Regions from separate parts of the Homo sapiens genome. Here region 1 is linked to region 2. The links are contacts of gene promoters, found by promoter capture Hi-C in human tissues and cell types (Jung and others, 2019). All regions are on one chromosome and are shown on one strand. The core of a region is centred on a gene start or on the middle of the fragment in contact, and the rest is flanking DNA. Distances in the headings are between cores, read along the strand shown.

Evidence for each region. Contacts are between HindIII fragments. The study calls those that stand out against the background at their distance.
Region 1: the fragment with the promoter of HIGD1B here is called in contact with a fragment that was not itself captured in region 2 in 1 of the 25 tissues and cell types used here (aorta).

The regions. Positions count from the first base shown.
Region 1 is chr17:44,845,473-44,849,523 of GRCh38, reverse strand. HIGD1B (HIG1 hypoxia inducible domain family member 1B) reads right to left here and starts at 1,641. Exons shown (of 3, transcript NM_016438.4): 1 at 1,272-1,641; 2 at 136-270. The coding sequence starts at 1,371. The HindIII fragment of the contact is 5,766 bases long and covers 1-4,051 here.
Region 2 is chr17:44,693,044-44,697,695 of GRCh38, reverse strand. No RefSeq gene overlaps it. Among named protein-coding and RNA genes, the nearest start is that of CCDC43, 5.6 kb to the right of the region's middle. The HindIII fragment of the contact is 6,435 bases long and covers 1-4,652 here.

The sequences.
Region 1 (4,051 bases), core at 392-2,891, 150 kb before region 2:
TCCCAAAGTGTTGAGATTACAGGCGTGAACCACCGCGCCCAGCCAAGCACAGTCCTTTTAATTGTTGGGACTTAAAGACCTACAAACTGCATAATCGGTTTTGCCCTCATTCTGCGACCCCACAAAGCTACTCACCTAGCATGATTGCACCCACTGCACAGGCCTGCGCTGCCACTCGGGTGTGAATCAGGTGTATGGACATCTTGGTGGAACCACGAGACCTCAGCCGGTAAATCCTGTATGCTGCTACCACCAAGCAGCCTCCTAAGCCTGTGGGCAGAGAACACAGCCCCTGGGCCACAGCCACAATGCACAGCACTCCCCTGATGAGAGATACCTTACCAGGCAGGCTGGGCATCTGGATAAACAGCTGGTTTTATGCAGCATCTGGTGGCGGGGGGTGGGCGTTGCGGGGGACCTAGGGGGATCATTAGAATATTGAGTTGTTGCCGGGGCATGGTGGCTCACGCCTGTAATCCCAGCACTTTTGGGAGACTGAGGCAGGTGGATCACCTGAAGTTGGGAGTTTGAGACCAGCCTGACCAAAATGGAGAAACCCAGTCTCTACTAAAAGTACAAAATTAGCCGGGCGTGGTGGTGCATGCCTATAATCCCAACTACTCAGGAGGCTGATGCAGGAGAACCACTTGAACCCAGGAGGCAGGGGTTGTGGTGAACCGAGACTGTGCCATTGCACTCCAGCCTGGGCAACGAGTGAAACTCCATCTCAAAAATATATATATATATATTGAGTTGTTGCCCTTCAATGGCATTTTCAAAGTGGCTGCCTCCCTCCCGTGACACCCCTCCCCCATATACAAATAGCTGATCACCACCAGTGATGCCCCTCCCCCAGATACAAATAGCTGATCACCACGACACAGCCCCTCCCCACCAATTTGCTCCGCCCTGGGCCCTTGAGCCACACTGCTGGCTCCCACCTCCTGGTACAGCTGTTTTCCTACTCTACCAGGGCCATAAGGAAGGAAGCCCTGGGGGACCCCAAGGTGTTCTTCTGACCCTTCCCACTTTGGTGTTGGTGCTCCAGGTTCCTCATATCCCATGTACTCAGTTGGCTGCCACCTCCACCCATCCAGACGTCCTGATTTCATTGTAAGGGTTTGCCCCTTGGCACCTTTGCTGTTGTTTCCCTTGTTCCGTGAGTAGGACCACTTGAGTTTTCTGACCTCTGCTTCATTCTCTTTGGAGGGTACCAGGAGACATGACAGAGAAGGCCTCCTACTCGGCACCCCATTCCTTTCTTCACTTACCTATAGGCACCAGTGGAGATTCCCGAGTCTTCCTCAGGAGCTTCTCAGACACACAGTCTTCGTCGTCAGGTGGTACCCACCAGCGTCTGTTAGCAGACATAATCCTGGACCTGGATGTAAGCAGCTGAGACTCCTATGCTGCAGCCCCGTCCTAGAGAGAGGCACTCCACAATCAGAACTCTGATTCCTCAGTCTGGAGAGGAAAGGAAGGTTACCTGCTAAGACCCTCTCTCACCATGCCCCAACACAGCCTCTACTTGAAAAGATGTCCCTCCCAGGTATCCCATCTCAGGTGGCTGGGCCATTAGTGCCATTTCTCCGTCTCCATTTCCTACCATCTGCCTCTTCCCCAGCTCATTCTGTCTTCACTGCTTTCTCAGCTTCCCCTTCCCCCATCTGCATCCCTATGGGTGTGATCCTTGGGCCAAGAAAAACAGCTGGAAAAGTCCACAGATGGTGGTGGGAGAAACAGTCCTTGAGTGCTGGGGCCCCCGCTGGCCTTTGGTCTGTGATGGTTTCTCCTGTGGGAGCTACAGAGCAGGATCTGGCCCCAGGGAGCCAGAAATGTCCTAGACCAGATAGTGTAACAGCATTAGTTACCAAATTGCCAGAGATTATAATGATTGGACATTGATTTGCATGTAATTTAGCATATATTTTGCACATGAGTACTAAGGAACACATTCTGGTTCCTGAGCTGCTCCTGTTTTTCCAGGTCCATCTCTTTCCAGGCAGGTTCTTCACAATTACCAACTGGCTACCTTCATCCCTGGGCTGGAAACAAGGGTTCTGCCAATGGGATGCCTTCTTTTTGAGACGGAGTCTCGCTCTGTCGCCCAGGCCGGACTGCGGACTGCAGTGGCGCAATCTCGGCTCACTGCAAGCTCCGCTTCCCGGGTTCACGCCATTCTCCTGCCTCAGCCTCCCGAGTAGCTGGGACTACAGGCGCCCGCCACCGCGCCCGGCTAATTTTTTGTATTTTTAGTAGAGACGGGGTTTCACCTTGTTAGCCAGGATGGTCTCGATCTCCTGACCTCATGATCCACCTGCCTCGGCCTCCCAAAGTGCTGGGATTACAGGCGTGAGCCACCGCGCCCGGCCCTTTTTTGTTTTTTTGAGACGGAGTTTCGCTCTGTAGCCCAGGCTGGAGTGCAGTGGTGCCATCTCGGCTCACTGCAACCTCCGCCTCCCAGGTCCTGGTTGAAGCAATTCTGCCTCAGCCTCCCAAGTAGCTGGGATTACAGGTGTGTACCATGCCCAGCTAATTTTTTGTATTTTTTTAGTAGAGACGGGGTCTTACCCTGATAGCCAGGCTGGTCTTGAACTCCTGACCTCTTGATCCGCCCACCTCGGCTTCCCAAAGTGCAGGGATTACAGGTATGAGCCACCGTGCCCTGTCCAATGGGATACCTTCTAAGCCTAACCATACGGCAAACTCTCTTTTCTTTTTCTTCTTTTTTTTTTTTTTTAGGCAGGGTCTCACTTTGTCACTCAGGCTGGAGTGCAGTGTCAATCCCTGCAAGCTTGACCCTCCAGACTCAAGCAGTCCTTCCACCTCAGCCTCTCAAGTAGCTGGGACTACAGGTGCATGCTACCACGCTCAGCTAATTTTTGTATTTTTTGTAGAGACAGTTTTGCCATGTCGCCCAGCCAATCTTGAACTCCTGGTCTCAGGCGATCTGCCCACCTCAGCCTCCCAAAGTTCTGGGATTACAGGCATGAACCACTGTGCCTGCCCTTGAGTCAGCTTCTATCCTAGTTAGCCCTCCTCTCCTGGAGGAGCAAGGACTGGTGGCCCCCCAGGTCGTTGGCATGCTGGTGCTTACCCTAAGAGATGGCTAGAACGAGGAGAACGGGCGGCCAGGCCAGGGCTCAGCGTCTGCTGTTTTGAACCGACCAAAAGCTGAGATGGAGCTGCCACTATGGGGTCAGGGAAGCAGTGACTTGGGCTTTATGAAAACTTTGAAGTCAGGGATGGAGAGGGGAGGGGAAAGGACAGGGGATCGGTCTTAACCCCCAGTCTGCTGAGTCCCAAGCCAAAGCTCCAGGCACTGGAAAGTAAGGAAAGACCAAATGGAGGGGAGCCCCTAACTAGATTCAGTCTTTTAATTCCCATGGAATTAAGTGGCTGGATCAGAGACAGGCTTGATGAGGAGAACGGAGATGGAGATACAGGAACAAGGATGAGTAGAAAGCCTGGGTCCCCCAAGTTACACTCCCTCGGATACTCTTATGAACAATGTGGGATGTAAATAAAATACCCTAGTTGTGAGAGACAGACTCTCTAGGCTGTCTTTTGGTTTGGGATTTTTTTTTTTTTCCGAGATGGAGTCTTGCTCTGTCACCTAGGCTGGAGTGCAGTGGCACGATCTCGGCTCACTGTAACCTCCGCTCCCAGGTTCAAGTGATTCTCCTGCCTCAGCCTCCCGAGTAGCTGGGATTACAGGCATGTGCCACCATACCCAGCTAATTTTTTTATTTTTAGTAGAGGCGGGGTTTCACCATGTTGGCCGGGCTGGTCTCGAAATCCTGACCTTGTGATCCACCCGGCTCAGCCTCCCAAAGTGCTGGGATTACAAGCATGAGCCACCACACCCAGCTAGTTTTTGGGGTTTTTTGTTTTGTTTTGTTTTTGAGATGGGGTCTCCCTCTGTCACCCAGGCTGTGTGATCTTGGCTCACTGCAGCCTCATACTCCCAGGCTCAAGCAACCCTCCCATCTCAGCCTCCTAAATAGCTGGGACCACGGGCACATACCACCACACTTGGCTCATTTTTGTA
Region 2 (4,652 bases), core at 1,714-4,213:
CAGCACTTTGGGAAGCTGAGGCAGTCGGATCACCTGAGATCAGGAGTTCAAGAGCAGCCTGACAAACATGGAGAAACCCCGTCTCTACTAAAAATACAAAATTAGCCTGGCGTAGTGGTGCATGCCTGTAATCCCAGCTACTCAGGAGGCTGAGGCAGGAGAATCGCTTGAACCCGGGAGGCAGAGTTTGCAGTGAGCCAAGGTCACGCTATTGCACTCCAGGATGGGCAACAAGAGCAAAACTCCGTCTCAAAAAAAAGGTAATGAATACTTAACACTACTAAACGGTAAACTTAAAAAGGGTTAAGATGGGGCCGGGTGCAGTCCCTTATGCCTGTAATCCCAGCAGTTTGGGGGTCCGAGGTGGATAAATTGGTATATAGTTGGATGTTAAGATGGGTCCGGGTTGGCTGGGCGCGGTGGCTCACGCCTGTAATCCCAGCACTTTGGGAGGCCGAGGCGGGCGGATCATGAGGTCAGGAGATCGAGACCATCCTGGCTAACACGATGAAACCCCGTCTCTACTAAAAATACAAAAAAAAAAATTAGCCGGGCGCGGTGGCGGGCGCCTGTAGTCCCAGTTACTCCGGAGGCTGAGGCAGGAGAATGGCGTGAACCTGGGAGGCGGAGCTTGCAGTGAGCCGAGATCACGCCACTGCACTCCAGCCTGGGCGACAGAGTAAGACTCCGTCTCAAAAAAAAAAAAAAAAAAAAAAGATGGGTCCGGGTGCAATCTCTTATGCCTGTAATCCCAGCACTTTGGGGGGCTGAGGTGGACGGATTGCTTGAGGCCAGGAGATCGAGATCAGCCTGGTCAACATGGTGAAATCCTGTCTCTACCAAAAAAAAAAAAAAAAAAAAAGATTAAAATGCCAAATTACATATTTTACCACAATTAAAAATAAAAATAAATAAAGAAGTGGGGGTGGTAATGAAACATCTTCAACTACATTATTTTTACTAAGGACTTTTGGTATACTACAAATAATAAATATTTATATTATGTACTTCTTTCTTTTTTTTTTTTTTTCAGACGGAGTCTTGCTCTGTCGCCTAGGCCTGGAGTGCAGTGGTTCAATCTTGGCTCACTGCAACCTCCGCTCCCCGGGTTCAAGCGATTCTTTTGCCTCAGACTCCCGAGTAGCTGGGATTACAGATGCCCACCACCATTGCTCGGCTAATTTTTGTATTTTTAGTACAGACCCGGTTTCACCATGTTGGCCAGGCTGGTCTTGAACCCCTGACCTCAAGTGATCCACCCACCTCGGCCTCTCAAAGTGTTGGGATTACAGGTGTGAGCCATCACGCCCGGCCTACTTCATTTTTTAACGATTTTCTCCTTTTTGTAGTTCTCTTTTTGTATGTTTTATGATGGACATACTAATTTGATATAGCAGTTCACACAAATAATTCATAAATAACTACATATTAGTGCATTAGGTGTACATGCTGAGAATATTTTTACTGCTAAGAGTATGTGGCAAAAATGTCTGATGCTCACTGATCTAGAGGAACTTTCCCATGGTGGGCAAGGGGACCACCTAAGAATGTGAACTGGTGCACTGACTGGAAAACTAGGAACTAACCTCACCATCCATCGGCAGAGGAATGGATCAGCTGGAGCATATTAAAGCAACGGAATACTATGCAGTGATTTAAATGGATGGATAAGAGCTACATATATCAACATGGGTAAAGATATATATAAAATATATATAGATACATATATATTATATATATTTTTTTCTTTTTTTTTTTGAGATGGGGTTTCGCTTTTGTTGCCCAGGCTGGAGTGCAATGGCGCGATCTCGGCTAACCGCAACCTCCGCCTCCCGGGTTCAAGCGATTCTCCTGTCTCAGCCTCCCAAGTAGCTGGGATTACAGGCATGTGCCACCAAACCTGGCTAATTTTGCATTTTTAGTAGAGATGGGGTTTCTCCATGTTGGTCAGGCTTGTCCCGAACCCCTGACCTCAGGTGATCCGCCCGCCTTGGCCTCCCAAAGTGCTGGGATTACAGGCATGAGCCACCGTGCCCGGCCATATACACGTATATATTTTTTGAGACAGGGTCTTGCTCTGTCACCTAGGCTGGAGTGCAGTGGCGCAGTCTTGGCTCACTGCAACCTCCGCCTCCCAGGTTCAAGCTATTCTCCTGCCTCAGCCTCCTAAGTAGCTGGGATTACAGGCGTGCGTGACCACGCCCAGTTAATTTTTGTAGCTTTAGTAGAGATGGGGTTTCACCATGTTGGTGAGGCTTGTCTCAAACTCTTGACCTCAGCTGATCCACCCGCCTAGGCCTCCCAAAGTGCTGGGATTACAGGCATGAGCGACTGCGCCCGGCCCAACATGGGTAAATATTTTAAACAACCTTGAGTGAAAAAGCACATTGCAGAATGAAAAGTACAGCATGCACACCAATGTGATATATTATGGATACATCCATATGTTGTAATATGTATTATATATGTAGCAATGTGTACTATGTTTAAAAACATTCAAGAAGAAAATAAACACCAAATTCAGGAATAGTGGTTACATCTGGGGAGAGAGGGGAGAAAATGAGGTTGGAGAAAGGGCTTCAAATTTGCTTTCTTTTACAAAAAGATACAAAGTAAATAAATATAACAGTTCAAAACCAGTCTCCTTCAGTTCTCCTCCTCAGTGGACAACCATTCTCACATATCCCTGGTGTATCTTTCCAGAGATAGCCTATGCACATACAAGGACACATATGTACATGTATTCCCCTACCCTAACTTCTTTTTAAATAGTGATGGTGGCAAGCATTACATATTGTTGATCTGTACTTTTTAAACAATGTATCTCGAACTTTGATACATGTCAGTGCATAAAGAGCTTCTTTGTTCTTTTTTTTTTTTTTTTTTCGAGACGGAGTCTTGCTCTGTAGCCCAGGCTGGAGAGCAATGGCATGATCTCCTCTCACTGCAACCTCTGCCTCCTGGATTCAAGCGATTCTCCTGCCTCAGCCTCCCGAGTAGCTGGGATTACAGGTGCTTACCACCATGCCCAGCTAATTTTTGTATTTTTAGTTGGCCAGGCTGGTCTCGAACTCTTGACCTCAGGTGATCCACCTGCTTTGGCCTCCCAAAGTGCTGGGACTACAGGCACCAGCCACCGCGCCCGGCCTCTTTGTTCATTTTTTTTTTTTTTTTTACAGCTGTGCAATACTTCTTTGTGTGGCTACCAGAGTTTTTGAACCAGTCTCATATACATAAAATGTAGACTATTCTTTTACTACAAAAAGCTTCACTACAATGAATATCCTTAGAAAAATGTGATTCTACACAAATGCACAGTTTTATTTTTTAAAGACAGAGTTTTGTTCTGTTGTTCAGGCTAGAATGCAGTGGCATCATCATAGCTCATGTAAATTTGAGCTCCTGGGCTCAAGTGATCCTCTTGCCTCAACCTCCTGAGTAGGTAGGACAAAAGACATGCACCACCACTTTTTTTTTTTGTAGAGCTGGGGTCTCATTATGTTGACCAGGTTAGTCTCGAACTCCTGGCCTCAAGCAATCCTCCCTTGTCAGCCTCCCAAAGTACTGGGATTACAGGTGTAAGCCAGTGTGCCTGGCCATTATACAAAATATTAAATCAAAATTTTTTTCTTTTTTTGAGACAGAGTCTCACTCTGTTGCCCAGGCTGGAATGCAGTGGCATTATCTCAACTCACTGCAACCTCCGTGTCCCGAATTCGAGTGAATCTCCTGCCTCAGCTTCTCAAGTGGCCAAGTAGCTGGGACTATAGGCATGCATTACCACACCTGGCTAATTTTTATATTTTTAGTAGAGACAGGGTTTTGCCATGTTGGCTAGACTGGTCTTGAACTCCTGACCTCAGTGATCCACCCACCTTGGCCTCCCTAAGTGCGGGGATTACAGGCGTGAGCCACCGCGCCCAGCCAACCACGCCCAGTTTAAACCACGCCCAGTTTAAACAGGCACCACGCCCAGTTTAAACCAAAAATTTTAAAAATAATTAATACTTAACACTATTAAATCGTATACTTAAAAATAGTTAAGATGGCAAATTGTGTATTTTACCACAAGTAAAGATAAAAATAAATGAATAACTTATGAACAAATTCCCAGAAGCAGAAATGCTGGGTCTTTTCAAACAAACAGTCCTCCAACAAGACCAGATCCATTTACTTTCTGCTCTAACATTTTCCAATGTCTTTTACCCAAGCACAGTTCAATACAGCATATTATCAGACTTTTTTGATCTGAAAAGCGGACGTGGTATTTCACTGCAATCTTAATTTGCGTATTTTATTTTTTGTAAGCTTTCAATTTGTCGCTTATCCATTTATATAATTTTTTCTTTTTTTTTGTTGAGACAGAGTTTTGCCCTTGTTGCCCAGGTTGGAGTACAATGGCGTAATCTCAGCTCACTGTAACCTCCGCCTCCTGGTTTCAAGCAATTCTCCTGCCTCAGCCTCCCAAGTAACTGGGATTACATGCGCCTACCACCATAGCTGGCTAATTTTTTTGTTTTTTTTGTTTTTTTTTGAGATGGAGTCTCACTCTGTTGCCCAGGCTGGAGAGCAGTGGTCAGATCTCGGCTCACTGCAAGCTCTGCCTCCCGGATTCGCGCCATTCTCCTGCTTCAGCCTCCCTAGTAGCTGGG